Regions from separate parts of the Homo sapiens genome. Here region 2 is linked to region 1. Evidence: promoter capture Hi-C in human tissues and cell types (Jung and others, 2019). All regions are on one chromosome and are shown on one strand. The core of a region is centred on a gene start or on the middle of the fragment in contact, and the rest is flanking DNA. Distances in the headings are between cores, read along the strand shown.

The links. The method cuts DNA at HindIII sites, captures the fragments that hold promoters and counts their contacts. A contact is called where the count stands out against the background at its distance.
Region 2: a fragment that was not itself captured here is called in contact with the fragment with the promoter of ERMARD in region 1 in 2 of the 25 tissues and cell types used here (lymphoblastoid cells and spleen).

The regions. Positions count from the first base shown.
Region 1 is chr6:169,748,707-169,754,446 of GRCh38, forward strand. It overlaps ERMARD (ER membrane associated RNA degradation), which reads left to right and starts at 2,916. Exons shown (of 18, transcript NM_018341.3): 1 at 2,916-2,957; 2 at 5,158-5,326. The coding sequence starts at 2,952. DYNLT2 (dynein light chain Tctex-type 2) reads right to left here and starts at 2,866. Exons shown (of 4, transcript NM_174910.3): 1 at 2,633-2,866. The coding sequence starts at 2,752. RefSeq lists a silencer at 1-53. The HindIII fragment of the contact is 9,893 bases long and covers 1-5,740 here.
Region 2 is chr6:168,977,095-168,982,834 of GRCh38, forward strand. All of the region lies in intron 2 of LOC105378145 (a long non-coding RNA gene), which reads left to right. Among named protein-coding and RNA genes, the nearest start is that of LINC01615, 180 kb to the right of the region's middle. RefSeq lists an enhancer at 2,060-2,702. The HindIII fragment of the contact is 3,803 bases long and covers 1,176-4,978 here.

The DNA of each region.
Region 1 (5,740 bases), core at 1,666-4,165:
TCAAGGGATGCAACTACATAGTATCATTAACAGCGGCTTTCAACTGCAATGATTCTTAAGGAAATGGGGCATTCGTGTGTGGCCTGAAAATAACCATTAATGCTTCTAATATGCTGAAAATTTACATCTGTACCATTTCTCCTTTGTGTATAATATTGGCTGACTTGCTATACTTATTAAGAGTATTTTATTCCTTTTATTAAGAATCTTTATAATCTTTTTTAAATTGGGAATAGGCTTTAAATATGATCAACTTTTTGGCATCTAATAATACCTGAGTTTCTACTGATATAGCATTTCCTTATATTGAGCCTACATATAGCCCTAAAATAAAATGAGCTTGGGCAGGAGATATTACTTTTATTTCTAAATGCCACATGCTAGTGTTTAAGATTTTTTTTTTCTTTTCTGAGACAAGAGTCTCACTCTGTTGCCCAGGCTGGAGTGCAGTGGCATGATCTCGGCTCACTGCAACTTCCTCCTCCCGGGTTCAAGCAATTCTCGTGCCTCAGCCTCCCTGAGTAGCTGGGATTACAGGTGCCTACCACCAAGCCCGGCTAATTTTTGTATTTTTAGTAGAGACGGGGTTTTGGCATGTTGGCCAGGCTGGTTTTGAACTCCTGACCTCAGGTGATCCATCCGCCTTGGCCTCCCAAAGTGGGGATTACATGCATGGGCCACTGCACCCGGCTGTATTTAAGAATTTCAATGCATGTGCACAAGTGAGAACAATCACGTTTTCCAATTTTAGTAATCTACTTCGCATTTTGTTACCTTTGATCGCAACAACAGGAACTCATTCGTGTTAAGCCAAAGTATAATTTATTGGAAAGATACAGTTTACATAACAGCAGAGAAGGCTGATGAACCAGATTCAGAAAGACACAGGGAACACTTTAGCTTCTCATCTTCAATGTGAATAAACCTCAATCATTTTCTTTGCATTATTTCAAAGAATTCATCTAATTAGCTTAGTTTGGGTCTCATCCTTATTAAAAAGTTAAGGGAAGTAGCTGACAATCTCACCAAAGCTCTATACAATTGCAGATGAGTTAATTCTCTAAAAGTTAACTGAGGTGCTACCACTAGAAAAAAAGAAATGGAGGCAAGACAGATAAAATCAAGAGATGGTCATATTGATGAAACAGTATGTCTTAAATTTTCCTATGCTCCAAAATAGGGAAATTAACAGCTACCTTAAATTAGAAATAACTAAGTGAACAGTTTCCTCAGGTACATTTAGTGAGCATTTGTAGAGTCCTTTCTCAATTTCTTCCCAATTATTGTTCTATTCAAATTTCTCACCTCTAAAAGAATCAACTTTAAAGATAGCTATAATTGATCACATCCATATCAAATACTAATAATTACTTTGGTCCATGTCCCCTCACTCCCAGATTTTAACCTATATACCAGGTGCACCTATGTGTCTCCTCATTTTGAGTTCAGGCTCATTGAATTTTAAAGACCACTTCAGACCTCAGATAGGCAGTAAGTTTATAAAAGCCACCCTTGTCTGCCTCAATATATAGAAATTTTTCTTTACTGTTGGTGACCTGTTACTCAGACTCATTGCCAAGAAATACAGCATAGTGTTTGGGAGTGTGAAGTTTTAAGTCCAACTGATTTAGGTTTCTAGCCCTGCTCTGCTCTTTTTCTTAGCTGTGTAAACTTGGCCTGTTTGCTTTTCCTCCTTTATTTAGTTCGTTCTTTCCTCTGTAAAATGTAGACACCAGGGAAACAAGAACCTGAAATTTCGCCATTATTTTGAGAATTCTCTTTTTAAGAGTAATCTTAAAATGTTTTAGGGTCTTCAAAAAATTGTTTTGCCTGTCATCTCTATCTTCATCCTATTATAGGTCCACGAAGTAAGTACGAAGAGAAACCAGTATAGGCCAATTGGACCGAGTACTAGCATACAGGTTCTGGTCCCAGCTCTATCATTACAGCTTTGTATCCTTGGGCAAACTAATTTTCTGTTAAAGTATCAATAAAATATAGAGTCTTTAATACATTAACGGTTTTCAAAGCCTAATCATATAGAAATACCTGTTATACCACCAATAAAACTGAATAATGACCCTTTCCATCAATATCAGTAAGTTTTGGACAGGGTATTTTCAACTTAAGTTTTTTTCTCCTGTACATTCTTCAAATATCCAGACTGCTGATGTTTTAAAAACCCAAAACATGGCACTATTCTGCCTGGTTTATCAAATTATTTTTTTAATACAACACACTCATTTTTCGCTAGCAAAACTGCTTATAATGGCACTAAATACACTAACATACTGTGTTTTAGTACAAAGCAATAATACTCAGAGTACTCTCAGGAAATCCGCAAGCTGAGTAAATTTGAAAAGAAGATCTTGTAACCACCCTTCCAATCGACTTATGTAGGGTTCTATGGCCCTAATTAAAAAACAAGAAAACTTTAGCACTCAAGTCCAAAGGGGACTGCCCAACTCAGTCTCAGGCTTCAATTTCGCATCTGGGGAAAAAAGAAACACAAAAGGGAGATGCTGCCTCCTTGGCTCTGGGGGTGGTGACGGGAGCGGGGCCCACTGGGGAGCGATTTCACTTAAACGGTCGGACATAGCCGTCTCGGGCCCCTAGCAGTCTCCGCACTCACTGCCTCCTTCTCGAACATGCTAGGCCTCCTTTCTTTCCTAGGCGTCACCGGAGCCTGCTGAGGGGTCTGGTTCGGGGTCTGGATGGGGCTCGACTTCACGCCTCGGCCTCGCTTCTCCATCTCGCTCTGTTCTCCAAGACGCCCACCGCCTCCCCTTCACCGCCGGCGGTCAAACGCCCTAGCCAGTCCCGCGAGGGCGGAAGTCTCCCACCTGCGCCTCGTACGGTAGGAAGTGCCCGCCAGGGCTCCAAAGCGCCTGGAGGAGGGGCGCGCAGGCGCCTGCGTCATTCACGCGCGCCGCAGCGGGGCACCGGAAGTTATGGAGGTAGGGCGGGTGTAGGGCCCGGTTCGATCCCGAGCTAGGCAGGGAGTCGGCGCCAGGCTGGGTGGTGCTCGGCTACGCGGAGTGGGCGAGCGAGCACGCGCCTGCGGTGGCCGGCGGTCCCGCGCTGGAGGGCGCTGGCGACGTCGCGGCCCTGGCCTCTGTGGCGGTATCGGACGCTCGGCCCTGCAAGACGCCTGGCGGGCCCTGCCGGCCTCCCTGGGCCAGGCTCGGTTTCTCCGTCGCCTCCTGGCCCTGAGCTGGAACGCGGCGGACGGTCAGGGAGGGCTGTGCGCGGTGGCGCGGGGGCGGAAAGCCGCAGGTCGGGCTCTCACCTGACCGTGGCTCGTTCCTAGAAGCGCAGTTTCCTAGTCGCTGCCTGTAGGGTCCACACTCGGACAGTAAATTTGTGTTCATCGCCGGGCGTGGTGGGGCCTGTGGTCCCATCTACTCCGTAGGCTGAGGTGGAAGGATCGCTTTAGCCCAGGAGGTGGAGGCTGCAGTGAGCCGAGATCGCGCCACTGCACCCCTGTCTGGGCGACGGCGAGACCCCGTCTCCAAAATGATGATAACGATAACTACCATTTTTGAGTACTATGTGCTAGATGCTTTTCATGTGTTATCTGATTACTGTAGCCCTACCAGGTGCAGCCTGGCACCGTTTTATTTCACTTAGAACTGAGATTCCGATAAAGTAACTTTTCCAAGGCAAGAGGTAGTCAGAGGCTGAGGAATGATTCAAATTTAAGTCCAGCTCCAAAGCACCGGCCCAGTGTAGTCTGCAGAGTTCCAGCCCCATAGAGCCACATGGAGGATGCGAGTGACAATCGCCAATCAACAAATAGTTGATGTAGATTTCTTTAGTGATGACTTAATTGTTAGGGCCTGCTGGGATTGTTCGAAAACCAGGGCTGAGAGTGGAAAGTGCAACTTCTGGGTGCAGGAGGAGCAAACAGGGCAACTGATAGCAGTTTCCACATTAGGAAGCTGCCCAGAGCTAATTATGACTGTCACAACACAGCCCCCCCTTAACTCAACACACCAAAATAAAGAGCTTCGGTTCCGCTTTAGATCCTGAATTTGACTTCTTTGCAGGTTTATACGATGGTCTTAGTGTCATGTGGGGTAATTGTGAGGATTTCGATTGTATTTAATTCTCCATGGAAAACCAGTACGGTTTGCTACTTTTTACATGGCAGGGAAGGCTAAACTTTACCTCTGCCCATCTTAGTTCGGAGTGACCCCTTTAACAAATGAAAGGATAACAAGAAAAAAGTTTATTCTTGGACAGAGTACACATCACAAGGGATAAACCTTAATGAGAAGTAACTTGAAATGGTGGCTTAGAACTACATTTGTATACCATCTTCAACAAAGAACTGTAGATTTGCAGAGAAGTGACAGGACACAGGAGAGCAGTTTTAGGCTTCAAAGGGCAGGAAATTGGGAAGGTAGATACATATTCGGAAACTAATGGAGTAAGAATTGTTTGCAGATTCCCCTGGTACCTTAACTGGTCTGGTAAGTCTAAAGTTATCCCCAGTAAAGAATTTATATCCTGTCTTTGGGCGGAAGAGGGGGAGGATAGAGAGAGCTTTTCCTTCATTTGCTGCCTCTTGTCTTCAGCTCAAATTTGTTGTTGTTTTTATATCGAAGAGGCATGTTTTGGGATGACATTGTGGTTTTCTTCAACACCGTTTAGGTAGTCAGAGGTACGTGGGGTTCTTTTTCCTTCTTGTTCGTTATACTTGGTTTCTGCTCTCCCATTCCCCATTTAAAAAAATTGCTTATTTTGATAACTCTGGGATAGTGAAGGAATGCTGAGAGCAATAATGCTCTGGTCGTAAAACACATTCAGCTTCCGTGAACTTGTATTTTTTCTTTTTTTTTTTTAAGTGAAAGGCAAGTTTATTAAGAAAGTAAAGGAATAAACAATGGCTACCCCATAGACAGAGCAGTTTGCAAATATTATGATTGATAATTTTAGGTCTTTAAGCCTTTATCATATTTGAGAACATTTATGTAAATTATCTTTAATATTTAATCACTATGTTTTAATCATACAGCTCTCACGATATCCAGAAAGCATGTTAACAGCAACTATACCTGAGTGCATTCAGTTCTTAAGAGATGTGTCTGAAATATATAATACTCTATTTTTCTTTCTGTTAAGCAGTGCCTTTTATTTTATTTTATTTTTTAGGTATTAATAGGGGACCCTATTACCACATGTCTTTCTCCCTCAGTGTATGATATAATTTGTAATCTTGGGTTTCAACTCAGAGAAAATTGTGATATCAATAGCATTGTAACTCAGAATGGTGAAGTATGCTGGAAAACAATCACAGACTGTGTGAGCTACACAGAGTCAGGTTTGTGCTGTCTTTGTACTCCAAACTTTCATAACTGTCCCATTGAAAATGTCTTGACCTGTAAAATTCCCCTTTCTGACCATTGGTTCCTTTTGTTAGATAATGTTATAATACAGGCCTAACTCCAAGGAGAACAGGAATCAATGTGAAAAGAGAGGGAATGAGGCCAGAGAAGCATGGAAAAGTTAATGGAAAGCTGGGCTAAGAAAACCACCTCTACAGAGGAGGTGTCAGGAGGCACAGAGGGGCTGGTGGGCTGTTGATGATGTAGATCTCAGGGCCTTGAGATGATTCTCTGTAGGAGTCATGTGAATTAAGGGTAGAAAATGACCAGTAATAGATTATACAGTTATTTTAAGTGTCTTCTAGACATTCTTGCACACTTTGGAGCAGAGATATAGGTGGGGAAATTTA
Region 2 (5,740 bases), core at 1,827-4,326, 770 kb before region 1:
GGGTATTCAATTAGGAAAAGAGGAAGTCAAATTGTCCCTGTTTGCAGATGACATGATTGTATATCTAGAAAACCCCATCGTCTCAGCACAAAATCTCCTTAAGCTGATAAGCAACTTCAGCAAAGTCTCAGGATATAAAATCAATGTACAAAAATCACAAGCATTCTTATACAACAACAACAGACAAACAGAGAGCCAAATCATGAGTGAACTCCCATTGACAATTGCTTCAAAGAGAATAAAATACCTAGGAATCCAACTTACAAGGGATGTGAAGGACCTCTTCAAGGAGAACTACAAACCACTGCTCAAGGAAAATAAAAGAGGATACAAACAAATGGAAGAACATTCCATGCTCATGGGTAGGAAGAATCAATATCATGAAAATGGCCATACTGCCCAAGGTAATTTACAGATTCAATGCCATCCCCATCAAACTACCAATGACTTTCTTCACAGAATTGGAAAAAACTACTTTAAAGTTCATATGGAACCAAAAAAGAGCCCGCATCGCCAAGTCAATCCTAAGCCAAAAGAACAAAGCTGGAGGCATCACACTATCTGACTTCAAACTATGCTACAAGGCTACAGTAACCAAAACAGCATGGTACTGGTACCAAAACAGAGATATAGATCAATGGAACAGAACAGAGCCCTCAGAAATAACGCCGCATATCTACAACTATCTGATCTTTGACAAACCTGAGAAAAACAAGCAATGGGGAAAGGATTCCCTATTTAATAAATGGTGCTGGGAAAACTGGCTAGCCATATGTAGAAAGCTGAAACTGGATACCTTCCTTACACCTTATACAAAAATCAATTCAAGATGGAATAAAGACTCAAACGTTAGACCTAAAACCATAAAAACCCTAGAAGAAAACCTAGGCATTACCATTCAGGACATAGGCATGGGCAAGGACTTCATGTCTAAAACAGCAAAAGCAATGGCAACAAAAGCCAAAATTGACAAATGGGATCTAATTAAACTAAAGAGCTTCTGCACAGCAAAAGAAACTACCATCAGAGTGAACAGGCAACCTACAAAATGGGAGAAAATTTTCGCAACCTACTCATCTGACAAGGGGCTAATATCCAGAATCTACAATGAACTCAAACAAATTTACAAGAAAAAAAAAAACAACCCCATCAAAAAGTGGGTGAAGGACATGAACAGACACTTCTCAAAAGAAGACATTTATGCAGCCAAAAAACACATGAAAAAATGCTCACCATCACTGGCCATCAGAGAAATGCAAATCAAAACCACAATGAGATACCATCTCACACCAATTAGAATGGCAATCATTAAAAAGTCAGGAAACAACAGGTGCTGGAGAGGATGTGGAGAAATAGGAACACTTTTACACTGTTGGTGGGACTGTAAACTAGTTCAACCATTGTGGAAGTCAGTGTGGCGATTCCTCAGGGATCTAGAACTAGAAATACCATTTGACCCAGCCATCCCATTACTGGGTATATACCCAAAGGACTATAAATCATGCTGCTATAAAGACACATGCACACGTCTGTTTATTGCGGCATTATTCACAATAGCAAAGACTTGGAACCAACCCAAATGTCCTACAATGATAGACTGGATTAAGAAAATGTGGCACAAATACACCATGGAATACTCTGCAGCCATAAAAAATGATGAGTTCATGTCCTTTGTAGGGACATGGATGAAATTGGAAATCATCATTCTCAGTAAACTATCACAAGAACAAAAAACCAAACACTGTGTATTCTCACTCATAGGTGGGAATTGAACAATGAGAACACATGGACACAGGAAGGGGAACATCACACTCGGGACTGTTGTGGGGTGGGGGGAGGGGGGAGGGATGGCATTGGGAGATATACCTAATGAGAGATGACGAGTTAGTGGGTCCAGCGCACCAGCATGGCACATGTATACATATGTAACTAACCTGCACATTGTGCACATGTACCCTAAAACTTAAAGTATAATAATAATAAATTAAAAAAAAAAAAGAAGAAGAAATGGGAACAAAAGAAAAAAAACTAAAAATCACTGACTTCCCTTGGATGAATCAGAGAATTAAGTTTGCAGAGCAAATTGCTATCTTCAAATCTCTCTCGAGAGATGAATACAGAGCATCACAGCTGAGATAAACTTACCTACAGCAGAAGCTGCAGGTGCTATCAATGGTAGCAACACTTAAATGGCATTTTGGTGAATTATCAGAGGCTGAGTTTGGACAAACGTGAGACTGAGAGACTCCAGGAAACGTATTCTTATGGAGACCTCAAAATTTTCCTGGGCTTTACAGCCAGGAAGAAAACCAGTTTCTGCTGGTGAAGATCTGAAAAAAAATCTTCTCAGGAAAGACCTCCTGTTGGCTCAGACAGGCGGATGGAAAGAGTAACAATTATAAACACAACTAGAGCCTTCTACATAACAAAAGGGTAAGGCCTTTGCAAGAGCCTTTCCAGAGCTAAAGGAAGGACAGTTATTCAACTTCAGCTCATTTTAGTTTTTATGTTTCACTTAAGGAAGAAAGGAAGCAAATAAACACTTGGAAAGTCACAGTCCAGGAACAGAGGACTTCTGAAACAGTTACTTTAGAAAAAATAGTTTATTCTAGATTATTTTAGAGTATCTGCCCATACTCTACCACCACATTAACAGGGATTCGATATAATAACAGTGGGTTACAGCAGAAAGAGTGTCAAGGAACAGACTCTCTCTGTGAAGGAGCACTTACAGAAGCTTATAGTATATGCTGCAGACCAAAACATGAAAACTAGAAACAATTAGACACCTACAATTAGATAAGATATTTAATGTATTCTGACTTCTAGCCAGATAAAATTAAAAGGCAGAGATGGTCAGAGTATATGAAAATAGCAAGATCCAACTATATGTTGTCTACAAGAAACCCAATTTTAAATACAGCCACTTACATAGAGCACAAGTAAAGTGATAGAGAAAGATCCATTATGCTAACACTAGTCAAAAGGAAGTTGGAGTAGCTACATTAAATTGAGACAAAACAGACTTTAGAACAAGGACAATTATCAAAGAAAAGAAGTGCATTGTCCAGCCCAGTGACCCAGCAGAAGACATGCCTCTCTGTACTCTGGAAGACAGGCTCATCAAACTTAGTCCCACTGTGGATCTTAGAGTAACTGTCACCCAATTTCAGTCCTACTCAGCTATAGTCCAGGGCAAGACCTTCCCACCCAGAGATCTGCCCAGTAACCCAGTGGGAACTACATCTACCTGTGCACTTGGTGGCAGGTAATCTACAGACCTAACTGTGGACCTTGAAATGAACTTTTGTCCACCAGCCCTATGGACCAAGGTTCCAGAAGCAGTCCAATTCATCCATAAACCAAGCAGGATCCATGCTTGCCAGCATCCCTGATAACAGGTCTGCCAACTGCAGAACCCACTTCAGACCCAGCAGTGGTCACCAAACTTGCCTCAAACTCCACTTTACTACAGTCCTAGAAGTAATTCCATCAGCCCAGGAAACTGGCAGAGAAAGGTCTTTACTTGCCATAACCAATCTTTAAAGACTGGTAGAGGTGTTTATTCTTTCAAAAGCACAGTAACCAATACAGGCTCTACGAATCTCAAAAAATCAGGCAAACAAAACACCATGAAAGGAATCTAATAAAGCTCCAGTAACCTATCCCAAAGAAATAGAGACCTAGAAATTACTTGACAATAAATTCAAAATAATCACCTTAATGAAGCTTAATGAGGTATAAAAAACACATATATACAACTAAACAAAAATCAGAAAAACAATGCATGGATAAAATGAGAATAAATAAACCAAAACCATAAAAAGAACAAATTCGAAATCCTGGAACTGAAGAATTCAATGACAGACTGAAAATTTAATGGAGAACTTCAACAGCAGACTCAGTCATATAGAGGAAAGACTCAGTATACTTGAAGACAGGTTCTTTGACATTAGCCAGTTAGAGGAAACAATAGAAAAACATTGGAGAAAGCATATAAAGCCTATGGGACACCATCAAACCAACAAATATAAACATTATGGAGGTTCCAGAAGGAAATAAGAGAGAGAAAGGGACAGGAAACTTATTTAAAGAAATTATTGGTAAAACTTCCCAAATTTTGGAAGAGATATGGACATCCAAATTCATGAGTCTCAATTATTGCCAATAAAAAAATCCAAAGAAAATTACTCTGAGACACTTTATATATAAACTGTCAAAACTCAAAGACAAAAATAACTTAGAAAGAAGCAAGAGAAAAGCTACTCATCACGTACAAGACAACTGTCACAAGGTTATCAGCAAATTTTTCAGACAAAATTTTGCAGGTGAGGGGGAAAGGGATAACACATAATCGTTTTAATGTGTTGGACTTAAAGAAAAAACTTCCTACCAAAAATACTTTACCTGAAAAAAACTGACCTTCAGAAATGAAGGAGACATAAAAACATTCCCAGACAAACTAAAGGTGAGGGAGATAATCACTACTAAACATGCCTTACAGGAAATGCTAAAAAAGGTTCTTCAAGTTTATTTGAAAGGATGCCAGGTAACAACGTGAAAACATATGGAAGTATAAAACTCACTTTAATGGAAAGAATATAGTCAAATCAGAATTCTCTGTTAGTGTAATGGGGGTGTATAATTACTTTTACTGTAATAAAAATGTTTAAGATAAAAGTATTAAAATAACTATAACTATAATAATTTGTTAATGAACATACAATATATAAAACATGTAAATTGTGATATCAACACCATTAAATGTGAGTGGAGAGGTTAAAATGTAGAGTTTTTATATGTAGACTATTTATAAGTTGTTTTATTTACCTCCTGGTAATCACACAATTAAAAAAAAGCACAGTAGATACACAAAAGAAAAAGAGAAGAGATGCAAACATATCACTACAAAAAATCATCAAATCATAAAGAAAAACAGCAAGAGGGGAGAAATGAAACAAAGATCTTTAGGATAAACAGAAAACAATTAACAAAGTGGCAGTAGTAAGTCCTTACATGTCAATAACTACTTTAAATGTACATGGATTGAATTCTCCAATCAAAAACATAAGTGGCTAAATGAGTACTTTTTAAAAAATTCAACTATATGGTACCTCCAAGAGACTTACTTTAACTTTGATGACACATATTGGTTGAAAGTGAAAAAATGCAAAAAGATATTCCATGCATGTGGTAACCAAAAGAGAGAAGGAGTGGCTATACTTGTACAAAACAGAATAGACCTTAAGTAAAAAGTATCACAAGACACAAAGTAGTCATCATGTAATAATAAAGAGGTCAATTCATTAATAGATTATAACAACTACAAGTACATATGCACTCAACGTTGGAACACTTAAGTATATAAATATATAGCCAAGACACTCTGGGGAATGAAGAACAAAGCCCGAGGCATTAGGGTTCCTGATAGCGAACTGCATTTTAAAGCCTTAATATGATACAGCATTACAAAGCAATATGATACTGTCATAAAAACAGACACACAGACTAATGGAACAGAATAGAGAGAACTGAAATAAACCCACACACATATTCTACTAAGTAATTTTTGGTCAGGGTGCCAAGCATACACAGTGTGGAAAGGATAGTCTCTTCAAATAAATGGTGTTTGGAAAAGTGAATATCCACAAGCAAAACAAAAGCAAAAACAAATTAAGCCCTTGTCTTACACCACACACACAAAAAATAACTCAAAAGGAAATGAATTTCAGACTTAAAT